2 separate regions of the Homo sapiens genome follow, and region 1 is linked to region 2. Evidence: promoter capture Hi-C in human tissues and cell types (Jung and others, 2019). All regions are on one chromosome and are shown on one strand. Each heading gives the region's core, a stretch centred on a gene start or on the middle of the fragment in contact. The rest is flanking DNA. Distances are from core to core; before and after follow the strand shown. Region 1 has its middle 53 kb from the start of SCPEP1. Region 2 holds the start of MPO (myeloperoxidase).

What was found. The method cuts DNA at HindIII sites, captures the fragments that hold promoters and counts their contacts. A contact is called where the count stands out against the background at its distance.
Region 1: a contact is called between a fragment that was not itself captured here and the fragment with the promoter of MPO in region 2, in 1 of the 25 tissues and cell types used here (lymphoblastoid cells).

What each region holds. Positions count from the first base shown.
Region 1 is chr17:57,027,584-57,033,989 of GRCh38, forward strand. No RefSeq gene overlaps it. Among named protein-coding and RNA genes, the nearest start is that of SCPEP1, 53 kb to the left of the region's middle. RefSeq lists a silencer at 312-512. The HindIII fragment of the contact is 3,545 bases long and covers 394-3,938 here.
Region 2 is chr17:58,276,695-58,283,182 of GRCh38, forward strand. MPO (myeloperoxidase) reads right to left here and starts at 4,241. Exons shown (of 12, transcript NM_000250.2): 1 at 3,911-4,241; 2 at 3,672-3,765; 3 at 3,145-3,320; 4 at 2,829-2,952; 5 at 2,603-2,732; 6 at 2,314-2,520; 7 at 1,133-1,451. The coding sequence starts at 4,064. RefSeq lists enhancers at 1-768, 1,900-2,589, 5,174-5,191 and promoters at 4,231-4,825, 4,231-4,371, 4,764-5,165, 5,050-5,275, 5,321-5,521. The HindIII fragment of the contact is 18,673 bases long and covers 1-6,488 here.

The sequences.
Region 1 (6,406 bases), core at 916-3,415, 1.3 Mb before region 2:
AAAGAAGCAGTTTATGACCTTAAAGCATTAAGCAAACCTAATACCTGACCTGCATAATTTAGACCAAATGCCTAAATTTTGAAAACATTTTTGTTTTACCAATAATCTTTAAAACTGTGTTTCCCAAAGCTTACTAAAGTCATGTGAACCAAAAGGCATTAAAGTTTTTATTTTTCTGACAAAATATTTGATTTAAGCACTTATTATTTTTAAGCCAATTAATCAAAGCTCTTTCATATAGAAACATTATACACATAACACATATAAATACAAAGACAGAAGAAGATCCAGTAGTTGAAAGATTTTTCATTTGCCAGTTTCTTAATTGGATTACTGGCTTCAGGGTGGAGCCCTTGGAGGAACACAGCCAGGAAAGCATGCCATTTCTACAGCCTAATAAGTAGGCACAGCTGGAAACAAAACAGATTCCCAAAATTTAAGGGTCCCAGATCCAGATCCTGGATCCCCAAAAGAGAGATTCAGCCCATCTCCCATGGGAGTCTTATCTCTCAGTGGGGGTGGGGTCATTTCCATACCTTCTAGGTAGTCAAGAGCATGCTTCTCTAATGCAAACATGCAAAGAGCCACGTATTCCCCCATAACTGCCATTAGCTATCCCCAAAAGTATATTCCTACCCAGTTGTTATACTAGGTAAAGCTTATACCAAAGCTCTCTAATAATGTAAAGTAATTTCTGATACCCCAAAAAGTTAAAAATATCAGATAATGCAATGCAAAACAGGACAAAGCCTTAGATTTTGAGAGGAATCTACCCACTTTTATTTCCTGGGTTTCCATGAAGACAATAGACATTTTTCCCCAAATGGGATCTGTGGTGCCTCCTATTACTGCAACCTGTTTTATCAGAAAGGTCTTTATGACCTGTGTCTCGTGCTGACCTCCTGTCTCATCCTCTGACTAAGAATGCCTTAACCTCCTGGGAATGCAGCCCAGAAGGTCTCAGCCTTATTTCATCCAGTCCCTATTCAAGATGGAGTCGTTCTGGTTCAAACACCTCTCACAGCACCTCAGTCTCTCTCTTGCTCCTGCTCTGGCCATGTGAGGTGCCTGCTCCCCCTTCACCTTCACCATGACTGTAAGTTTCCTGAGGCCTCCCAAGAAGCCGAGCAGATGCCAGCACCATGCTACCTGTATAACATGCAGAACCATGAGCCAATTAAACCTCTTTTCTTTACACATTACCCAGTCTCAGGTATTTCTTTTTTTTTTTTTTTTTGAGACGGAGTCTCACTCTGTTGCCCAGGGTGGAGTGCAGTGGTGCGATCTCGGCTCATTGCAAGCTCTGCCTCCAGGGTTTATGCCATTCTCCTGCCTCAGCCTCCCGAAGTGCTGGGACTACAGGCGCCCACCACCACGCCTGGCTAATTTTTTGTATTTTTAGTAGAGATGGGGTTTCACCGTGTTAGCCAGGATGGTCTCGATCTCCTGACCTCGTGATCCGCCCACCTCGGCCTCCCAATCAGGTATTTCTTTATAGCAATGTGAGAATGGACTAACAAACATTACCTGAGTTCTGTGAGCTGTTTTAGCAAATGATTAAACTCAAGAAAGGGATCATGGGACCCTCTGACTCATAGCCTGTCAGAAGCACCAGGTGACAAGCTGGACTTTTGATTGGCAACCGACTGTGGGGTAGGTACTAACTTCAGATAGATCATGTCAGAACTGAATTGAATTGTAGGATACCCAGCTGGTATCTCCAGAGAATTGGAGAATTGCTTGGTATAGGAACCCCTGCTACACACACACATCTGGTGTCACAAGTGAAGTACTGAGTTTTTCCTTTCGTTGTGAAGAAGAAAACCCTTTTTATTCTAAATGCCTTGTGTTTGGTGTCATTGAAGCTACATAGTGTCTTAGTTCTTTCCGGCTGCTATAACAAAATTACCTTAGACTAGGGCATTTATAAATGACAGAAATTTATTCCTCATAGTTCTGGAGTCTGGAAAGTGCAAAATCAAGATGCCAGCAGGTTTGGTGTCTGGTGAGGGCCCTTTCATGAGGGTTCCGCTCCCATTAACCACTCCTAAAGGCCCTATTTCTTTTTTTTTTTAATTATTTTTTTGTAGAGGGTCTCACTATTTTGACTAGGCTGGTCTCAAGTTTCTGGCTTCAAGCAATTCTCCCACCTCGGCCGCCCAAAGTGCTGAGATTACAGGCAAGAGGCACTTGTGCCAGTCCCATTTCTTTTTCTTTTTCTTTTTTGAGATGGAGTTTCACTCTTGTTGCCCAGGCTGGAGTGCAATGGCACGATCTCAGCTCACCACAACCTCTGCTTTTGGGGTTCAAGTGATTCTTCTGCCTCAGCCTCCAGAATAGCTGGGATTACAAGCATGCTCCACCATGCCTGGCTAATTTTTTGTTGAGATGGGCTTTCTCCATGTTGGTCAGGCTGGTCTCAAACTCCCGACCTCAGGTGATCCACCTGCCTCAGCCTCCCAAAGTGCTGGGATTACAGGTGTGAGCCACTGCCCCTGGCCCCTAGCCCCACTTCTTTAGTACTATCCCATAGGCAATTAGGTTCCAATATATGGGGAGATAGGACATTTCTGCTGGGCTTGAACACCTACATTTTTAAAATAAAATTTAAAAACAACCATAATACCATCATCACTCCCCTACTACCCCCCAAGTGAAAAATATCTTAGTATCATCAAATATCCAAAGCCCACGTAGACTACAAATTTATTTCCACCAATTCAAATTCCTGGGCTGGAGCATCTGATTAGTGGGTCTACAGGACTACTCTGTATCTACCAAGGAGGAGAGAGAGGAAAGGTATAACCTCATTGAGGCCCCAATAGCTTCTCATCAGAGGATTCTGCCTGATGCTGGCAAGACAAAAAAAAAAAAAGAGTTTTGCCAGGCGCGGTGGCTCACATCTGTAATCTCAACACTTTGGAAGGCTGAGGCAGGTGGATTGCTTAAGTCTAGGAGTTCAAGACCAGCCTGGGCAACATAGGGAGACCCCATTTCTACAAAAAATTTTTAAAATTAGCCAGGCATGGTGGTGAGCACCTATAGTCCCAGCTACTCAAGGAGGCTGACGTGGGAGAATCGCTTGAGCCTGGGAGGTCAAGGTAGTGAGCCACGATCATGCCACTATACTCCAGCCTGGACAACTAAGTGAGGCTCTTCCCCCGCTCCAAAAAAAAAGAAAAAAAAAAAAAGAAATGACTTCCCATTACAAGTGGTGTCAGCAATAATGCAGAAGAGAGGGAATGGCCAGAAAAGCTTTTGGACAGGAGGTCAGATTAAACTGAGCTCTATGAGATGGGTAGAGTATAGGTATCTAGAGATGGGTAGAGTGTAGGTACCTAAAGATGGGTAAAGTGTAGGTAACTAGAGAGACTAGAGGATAGGATATTTTTTATTTTATTTTTCCTTCTTTGTGATGGAGTTTCACTCTTGTTGCCGAGGCTGGAGTGCCATGGCGCCATCTCGGTCCACTGCAACCTCTGCCTCCCGGGTTCAAGCAATTCTTCTGCCCCAGCCTCCAGAGTAGCTGGGATTACAAGCATGTGCCACCACAACCAGCTAATGTTATATTTTTAGTAGAGACAGTTTTCACCATGTTGGCCAGGCCGGTCTCAAACTCCTAACCTCAGGTGATCCACCCGTCTTGGCCTCCCAAAGTGCTGGGATTACAGGCATGAGCCACCACGCCCAGCAATATTTTTTATTTCTAATAAAATAATAAGTGTAATAGTAACAAAATTTAGAAAATAAAGAAATGTAGGAAAATAGTTATTAAAAGTCTCATTACCCAAAAAAGTCATTTGGCTTAATTCATATCCCTATATTTTTTATTTAACGGGCATTATAAGAATTTATCTATGTTACTGTGGGTTCTTTGTCAGTATAATTTTTTTTTAAAGAGAGAAGGTCTTGCTCTGTTGTCCAAGCTGGAGAACAGAGTGCAGTGGTATGGTCATAGCTCACAGCAGCCTTGAACCTCTGTGCTCAAGTGATCCTTCTGCCTCAGCCTCCTGCATAGCTGGGACTACAGGTGCCACCACCACACCCCGCTAATTTTTCAATTTTTTGTAGAGACAAAGTCTCATTTTGTTTCCCAGACTGGTGTTGAACTCCTGGCCTCAAGTGACCCTCCTGCCTTGGCCTCCTGAAGGGCTGGGATTACAGGCCTGAGCCACTGTGTCTGGCCTTGTAAATATCATTTTTTAACAGATACATAATATTCCATTAAGAAAATGTTCTACACTTCATCTGACCAGTCCTCCATATTTTGACATTTATTCAAATTTCAGTTTTTCTTTTCTTTTTTTTTTTTTTTTTCAGACAGGGTCTCATTCTGTCACCCAGCTGGAGTGCAGTGGTGCCATCTTGGCTCACTGCAACCTCGACATCCCTGGCTCATGTGATCTTCTCACCTCAGCTTCCCAAGTAGCTGGGATTACAAGTGTGCACCACCATGCCTGGCTTATTTTTTAAATTTTTTTTGTAGAGACAGGGTTTCACCATGTTGCCCAGACTGATCTCAAACTCCTGGGCTCTAGCAATCGCCCACCTGGGCCTCTCAAAGTGTCATTTCAGTTTTTCTGATTATAAATAACTGTGATGAACATTATTTTGCTTAAAGCTTTTTCTGGTTTTAGAGTTATTTAATTACTATGGACTCCCAAAAGCAAAATTCTGGTAAAATGTTGTATAAATATTATAAAGAGTGGGGGTATTTCTGATACTGATTTTATACCACCTTATATTGTTATTTAGTAATCTCAAGAGGTGTTTCAAATTCTCAAGGCAAAATTGATAGAAATTGGTAAATTTTAAGACCATAGGCCCTAGGGTGTATAGCATAGAGGCAGAATTTTTAACTGCGCACACAGCGATCCAGAAAAAAAAAAAAAAATACTACATTTCCCAGCAGTTAAGTGTGGCCACGTGACTACGTTCTGGCCACCGGGATATAAACAGAAGTGTTCTGGCAGCAGCTGGAAACCGTCCCCTTTGGTGTACCTTTTGTTCCCTTTCACCCTCTTTTATTTTGCTGGCTGGAATGTGAATGCAACCATTTGGGATCATGGTAGGAAGATATGCTAGAATGAGCCGAGGTCCCCGAGGATTTTGAGGACTGGAGCCACCATTCCACCTTTGTACTCCTTTTCTCTCTTTACATGGAAATAAATTTTTGTCTTAAGCTACTGTTGGTTTGGGTTTTCTACCACTTACAGCCATGCCTAATTCTGACTAAATACAATGTGGTTTTAAAACTGGGACAGGCATTGTTATACTCTTCTTCATAAGCCCAGAGTAGCTGAGAAATGTTGCCATGGGAAAAAAACATTACAGGCCGGGCACGGTGGCTCATGCCTGTAATCCCAACACTTTGGGAGGCCGAGCTGGCAGATCACCTGAGGTCAGGAGTTCGAGACCAGCCTGGCCAACATGGTCAAACCCCGTCTCTATTAAGAATACAAAAATTAGCTGGGTGTGCTGGCAGGTGCCTGTAATCCCAGCTACTCAGGAGGAGGGTGAGGCAGGAGAATCACTTGAACCTGGGAGGCGGAGATTGCAGTGAGCCGAGACCGTGCCACTGCACTCCAGCCTGGGCAACAAGAGCAAAACTCCGTCTCAAAAAAAAAAAAAAAAAAAAATTTCAAATGTACTTTGAGATCAGGTCACGAGGAGGTTTGACTTTTTAAGTGTTCCTGATTCTAACAGAAAAGAAAACATTAGTGTCAGCAGCAGGAAATTTCAAGTAAAACTATAGGATTCGTGACGTCCAACTTCTAATTTAGTTGCTTCAAGTGTAAAGGCAAAAAGGAGTTGTGGGGTAGAGGGGAGAAAACTGGTTTGTCTTGTTTCCAAGGATTACTGCCCCTACTTCAAGAGCTATTAAAAGGTCCTCTTGAGAGAACTGTAACCAAAAATAAAGTGGCACTGGCAACTCTCTGGGAACACATTTAACTCTGCTCGTAGAAGCATAGCCTGTTTTAATTGGCTAAAGCCCAAGCCAGGCCCTGTTTTCATCTGAATTAGGAAAAAGCAACTGCTGAGAAAATATTTAAAAATAACTATACCAATGTAAAAAAGCAAAGAAAAAAAAAAAACAAACAAAACCCCAAAACCCTAAATTAAAAGAACATGTGTTCGAATGTACTTGGTTAAAGCCAGATGCAGTGGCTCGCACCTGTAATCCCAGCCCTTTGGGAGGCCAACATGGAGGATCGCTTGAGCTCAGGAGTTCAAGACCAGCCTGGGCAACATAGGGAGACCCTCTCTCTATTTATTTTAATTTTTTTTAAACAATGTACTTAAAGTAAATCAAATCTGGTGAAGACACAGATGCTTTGGGGCTCAGATCTATATGTTAGGATTGGGAATTTGTATTTTTGTTTCTCAAAAGTGGTCACTGACTGGG
Region 2 (6,488 bases), core at 2,991-5,490:
CCGACCTGGATCCTCCTCCCAGGGTCCCAGCCAGGGAGAGACCAGCAGGAACCATCAGGAGGAGGCAGAGGGAGGCCAGAGGAAAGGGCCTGAGGTCCACTATTGGGTTTACATTTAAAAACACTGGAAAATGGCTGCGTGCGGTGGCTCACACCTGTAATCCCAGCACTTTGGGAGGTTAAGGTGGGCAGATCATGAGGTCAGGAGTTTGAGACCAGCCTGGCCAACATGGTAAAACACCATCTCTACTAAAAATACAAAAAATTAGCCAAGTGTGGTGGCAGGCGCCTGTAGTCCCAGCTACTCAGGAGGCTGAGGCAGAAGAATCACTTAAACCCAGTTGGCAGAGGTTGCAGTGAGCCGAGACTGTGCCACTGTACTCAAGCCTGGGTGACAGAGTGAGATTCCGTCTTAGAAAAAAAAAAAACACTGGAAAATGTCTGGTCATGGCTGCCATCACTGCCCCAATTGTGTCTCCAAAACTGCCAATTGTTTACATTTAAAATCCCATCATCTCTTATTATGGGTAATTAAGATGCGCAGGAGGGGATATTTTGGAGCAGTGTGGTCCAACTCAACCTTCCGAGATGATGAAAATATTTTACATCTGTGCCACCCAATAGGGGGAGCCACTAGACTGTAAGGCAATTGAGCATTTGAAATGTGGTTAGCACCGCTGAGAAACTGGGTTTATTTAATTTAAAATAACTAAAATTAAAATAGCCACATGCAGCTAGTGGCTACCACATTGGATAGTGTCGCTCTAGAGGGTGAGGGCACCACAGCGTTCTCTGTCCTTTAGTTCCCTGCCCCTGAGGGATTTGACTCTCTTGTCTTCCAGAGTCCAGAAGGGAAAAAAGGGACAGAGAAAGCAATGGACTGATGGACAGAGGCTCCTCAGCCATGCCTGGGTCTCCATCTTAGGGTTGGAGAGGTTGTTTGCTTTTCTGCTTTTCTGGCTCCATCTGACTTGTTACCAAGGCAACTGGATTAATATCATGAAGTTGATAGTAATGGCTGGTGAGGACAGTCTCTCTAAGTACAAACCCACAAGCTGCTCACAAACAGACTCACTGTGGCTCCAACAGGGAACATCTCCTATGCCACCTCTGGTCCCCACCCCAAAGCTGACCTGCCAGGAAGCAGGGGATGCGCGCTGAGCGGTTGGTGAGGAGACAGGGGTCATCGTGCAGGTTGTCAAAGGGCAGCAGGGCCCGGCCGTTGTCTTGGAAGCGCTGGTTGACGGCCAGCAGCCCCAGCTGGTTGGACATGTTGCGCAGGTTCCTGGCCAGGGGCTCCTCGCTGCCGTACACCATGCTGGCGTCCACGAAGGAAGTGAGCGCGTTGATCTGGTTGCGGATGGTGATGTTGCTCCCGGGGCAAGCCGGGCAGGAGCGGAAGAACGGGATGCAGTCGGCTTGGTTCTTGATGCGGGGGTCATTGGGCGGGATCTGAGGCACAGAGAGAGGCTAGACTGGCTCACCGAGGGCAAGGAAGGTGCCCAGGCAGAACTGGATCTCCCCCTGCCCTCAGGACCTCTGGTACCCTCAACCTGCAGAGAGGCCTCCGGAGGCCCGAAAGGGATCGCTGCCTAGGGCGCCATCAGCAACAGCCTCTGAGGTGCAGGGTTAATGAGCAGAACACTGAACTGGGAACCTGGGCAACCCCTGGGTCTGGGCACCGCCAGGCCTCGGATCCCTCCTCACTAAAGCGTCGCCCGTCTCTCTCCCCTTCTCTCTGCTGTGCCTGCTCTCCCTCTGGCCCTGACATTCTCCTGTCTGTCTCTCCCTCTCTCAGGCGCTCTCTCCTTTCTCTCCTCCTCCTTCCCTACTCAGCAGTGCCTCGACCACCCTGCCCACTCCCAGCCCTGTCCCACGGCACCCACCAGACCCCCAGGCTCTCTCTTTCTGTGTGATGGGGGTTGGGGCTGCCCTCTCAGTGGGGCGGAAACAGGACTGAGCATGGAGGCTTGGGGGGCACTGAGAAGGTCTCCTCCCAGAACCCTCTCCCAACCTAACAAAGAGCCAGTGATTCCACCAACAGGACTCCTGTCAGCCAAGGAGGAACAACCCTCTCTCCCTTGGCCTGCCAGAGGCAGTGAGCAAATGGACGGCCCTGGCTGCCAGCTGGCTGAGCCCAGGCGCAGGAAGGAGACAGGTCATAGCTGAGCAGCCAGTGCTGTGGACACAAGGGAGGCAGGGCCAGCCTTCCTCAGCGTCTGGGAAAGGAAACCTGGGCACAGAAGGGAGATGGCCCCTTCCAGAAACAATCTCCCCTCTCCCAACCCAGGCAGTGGGCGGGAAGCAGGGCCACCTTGAGCGGGAAGCAGGGCGGCTGCTGAACGCAGCTGGTCTCGCAGTTGACGCCAGTGACGAAGGAGGCCCGGGCGGCCGGCTCAGGGGTGAAGTCGAGGTCGTGGTCCAACAGCTGGCCCCATTGCATGAACATGAGTGAGCGCTCCTGGTCCGGAGTCAGCTGATCAGTGGGGAAGCGCACGATCTCGTTGGAGACCGCGCGAGCCTGCGGGACACGGAGATCAGCTGGCGCCTGGGTCCGCGCACCGCGTGGCCGGGCCTCGCCCCCTCTGCCCGCCGGCGCTCACCAGAGCCACCGGGAAGCCGTTGCGCTTGACCCCGGGCGTCCAGCCGTAGGGAAGAGAGAAGCCGTCCTCATACTCCGCCGGCAGCCAGCGCACAAAGGCACGGTTGGAGGCCCCCAGCGTGGGGCTGCGTCTGCAGGGGAGGACAGGGCGCTGACACCGGGAGGCTTGTGGCGTCCGGGACGCCTCTCTGAGCCCGGTTCCTGCAGCCACCCCCAGCCAGCCGCACCTGTTGTTGCACATCCCGGTGATGGTGCGGTATTTGTCCTGCTCCGGGCAAGTCACCCCCACGTCCTGGTAGGCGCAGCCGCTTGACTTGGACAACACATTCAGCTGGGCGGGCGTCAGCACATCTGCCGGGGGAAAGAACAATGGGGGAGCTGAGCCGCCTCACTTCCTATCCCAGGCAACCTGAGGCTGAGGAGCCCTGGAGACTCCTGAGACTCCCTGGAGGAAGAAGTTGAGGGGATCACTGAGAGACGGCTGGGGTCCCTAGGAGGAGTCACTAGTGGAGCAGGGACCTGGGGTGTGATGGGCAACAGTACCAGTGACATTGAATGGCCTTCGCCACAGGGACCGCAGCTTCCTCTCCAGCAGGTCTAGAGCCACGTGCAGGTAGTCAGCGGCCCTCACCGCCGTCCTGGTGGCTGCCACCGGCTGCTTGAAGTAGGATAGGAGTTCCATGGGGCTGGCTGAGCCGCTGCGAAGCCGCTGCTTGATGCTGCTTGGAGAAAGGAGGAGTGAGGGCCAGAGAAGGGATACAGACCCACCCAGCAGAGCCCCAGCCCAGGGGCAGACATGCAGGACCATGCAGGCAGGCCCACGGGTGGGAGGAAGGCTTCCTTTTATAAAAAGGATATGGACCTGGGTGTCCAGACAGAGGCAAGGCTTTGGGAAGGATGGCTTTTAAGCTGTTCTCCCATCCAGAAACACAGGGACAGACAGACAGAAAGGGAGTCCACATGGGTCCCCATAGTCCCCCTCTCCCACCTTCAAGCTCCCTGCTGCCTGCTGCTTCTCTGAAAGGCCTGGGACATCCTTGCCCAGAGCTGGGCAGTGCCTCGTGCCCCACCTTTCCCGCCGCTCCTTGTAGGCCTTGTCCACCAGCTGCTTGGCCTCCTCCATGGAGCTCAGCACCAACGAGGTGTCCACCTCCCCCAGGACAGCTGCCCAGAGCAGGGATCACAAAGTCAGGAATGGGCCCCAACCCCCTATCAGGCCCCAGAGCTAGGAAGGCCTGCTCTGAGAAAAGGGGTCTCTGGAACACAACCACCCCAACACACCATCTTCTCCCACCTTGGGAACTGTTACCTGGAGCAGCACCTTCAGAGGGCTGGGGCGTGGCCAGAATGGCCAGGAGCCCTGCTAGGGCCAGAAGCAGCTTCATCTCTGCAGTGAGACCCCCAGCCCAGCAAGGTCCTAAGTCCACCATGCATCTGAGAGAAGAGAAGAAGGGAACCCCCATCTCTCTTCTCCTGGGCTGCTCAATCCCCCTTTGTACCTCAGCCCCACCTCAGAGGGCCCTGTCTATGGATAAAGCCAGACCTCCTTGAGGGAGGGGCTCACTGCTCTCTTATCCCCTTGCCAGCTGCTGTCATCCAGCTTCCAAGGACCCCACCTCCACAGCTCACCTGATATTGTCAGCTCCTCTTAGCTCAATCTGCGCTTTTATGTCCTCTAAGCTGGGGGTGGGGTGAGGTAGAGGAAGGTCTGATCCTGGAGACTGAACTCTTTCTCCTCCCCCACTGGGGTTGGAAGGTACACACAGAGGGGCCCCTGAAATGGGGGGAAGGGGCAGGAAAGGAGGGGCCAGCATTGTCCCCAGCCTTTTTTTTTTTTTTTTTTGAGACGTTATCTTGCTCTGTTGCCCAGGCTGATGTGCAATGGTTCAAGCGATTCTTCTGCCTCAGCCTCCCGAGTAGCTGGGATTACAGGTGCCCGCCACCACGCCCTAGCCTCTAGCCACATCATCAATTATTTCCTTAGGCAAGAAGTAATTTTTGTATTTTTCCTTAGGCAAGAAGCTAATTTTTGTATTTTTAGTAGATACAGGGTTTCACCATGTTGGCCAGGCTGGTCTTGAACTCCTGACCTCAAGTGATCCACCCGCCTCAGCCTCCCAAAGTGCTGGGATTACAGGCATGAGCCACTGGCCCCAGCCTGTCCCCAGCCTTTGAATTTAGCACTACCAGCCCAAGATTTCTCAGCTCACCATTGTGTGCCTATACCAGTGCTTGTCCCCAGGGGATACACACAACTAACCCCTCTGAAATTCTGGTTACACTGGTTATCCAGGGTTCCTTTGAAAGGAACAAAAGTCAGGAACTGGTAGCCCAAGGAATTGCAGGGAATAGAGTGCCCCCAGGGAAGACAGGAGGATGAAAGGGAGACCTGGAGTAAAGATGACCCAATTGGCCTCAGGTGGCCATCCCCCACTCCAACAGTAACCTGCATCCAACAGCCACCCAATGGGCAGCCTCTGGTTCTTGGTGGGGCTAAGGGGACAGGAAATCTGGCTGGAGACCGTTGGGCTTCACAGGAAGGAGGACCCTGGGGACTGTGGGCGCAGGACCAAGATAACTTCCTCTATCCCTCCTCACTCCCCTTTCTTCTTGGCTTCTGGTAGAGGGCTGTCTCCAAACTCCTCCTCCCCACCACCATCTGCTCCTGGATTTCAGGAACCAGGAGAGAGCAGAACTGGTTGTGGTTAGTGATCAGTTAGGTGATGCAGCCCAGGGCCTCTCTGGGACAGGATCAGTGCAGTTGGGAGGACTTGGGTTAATGATTCAGAATAATTCTGAAACAGAAGAGGATATTTCTTGCTTGAGAAAGCCCAGCAAAAGGGCCACCAATCTCAGCAGGAAAAGTACTACGACTTTTGACTGAATCAGTCTACCTCTCTGGGCCCTGGTCAGGCTGAGCTCGTGCCAACCATGCCTCCCATGTCCCATTTAGGTTCCCCCTCCTACCTTCAGCCACCTTCCCGCCACCCACTCTTTTTTTTTTTTTTTTTTTTTGAGACAGGGTCTCTCACTGTTGGCGGAGCTGGAGTACAGTGGTGCAATCTCGGCTCACTGCAACCTCTGCCTCCTGGGTTCAAGCAATTCTCCTGCCTCAGCCTCCCAAGTAGCTGGGATTACAGGCGCCCGCCACCATGCCCGGCTAATATTTTGTATTTTTAGTAGAGATGGGGTTTCAACATGTTGGCCAGGCTGGTCTCAAACTCCTGACCTCCTCCTGATCCACCCACTGTTGGGATTACAGGCGTGAGCCACCGCGCCCGGCCCACTCTTGTCTTCTATGCCCAGACCACCTCTTGGCCAAGGGACAAGGGACAGCAACACCCAGAATATCTTCCCAGTGTGTCCAGGGATTCTGTCCCCTGCTGAGAAGGGGAACCAAGCTTTTGCCCTGCCAGTGACTTGCTGTGTGTGAAGTTGGTCGAGTGGCTCTTTGTGAATCAAGCTCTAGAATTTTAGAGGCTTTTGGAAATGATTTTTCAATCCTTTAAGTAATATAATTTTCACTGATGAAAAGTTTGAGAACACGAGTATGCAAAAATAAAAATAAATCAAAATTACTCATCATCAAGTGAGATTGTGGGTACTTTTTTCTTTCAAGGTTTATCATTGTCTTCACATAAATAAACAATAGGAAGGAAAATAATTGCCCATAATCCCACCACTCACCAATACCTCATTTAAGAATTTGATATCCTATATGTAAACATAATATATATTTTTAAATATTGATAAGAAGAACTTTAAATATTGTTTTACCATCTACTTTCGGTACTTAACAATTTTAGTCTGAGCATCTCCCTGTGTCAATAAATACAGGTTTACTTCATTTTTATGTCTGTATAATATTTCATATAACTATTTTATAT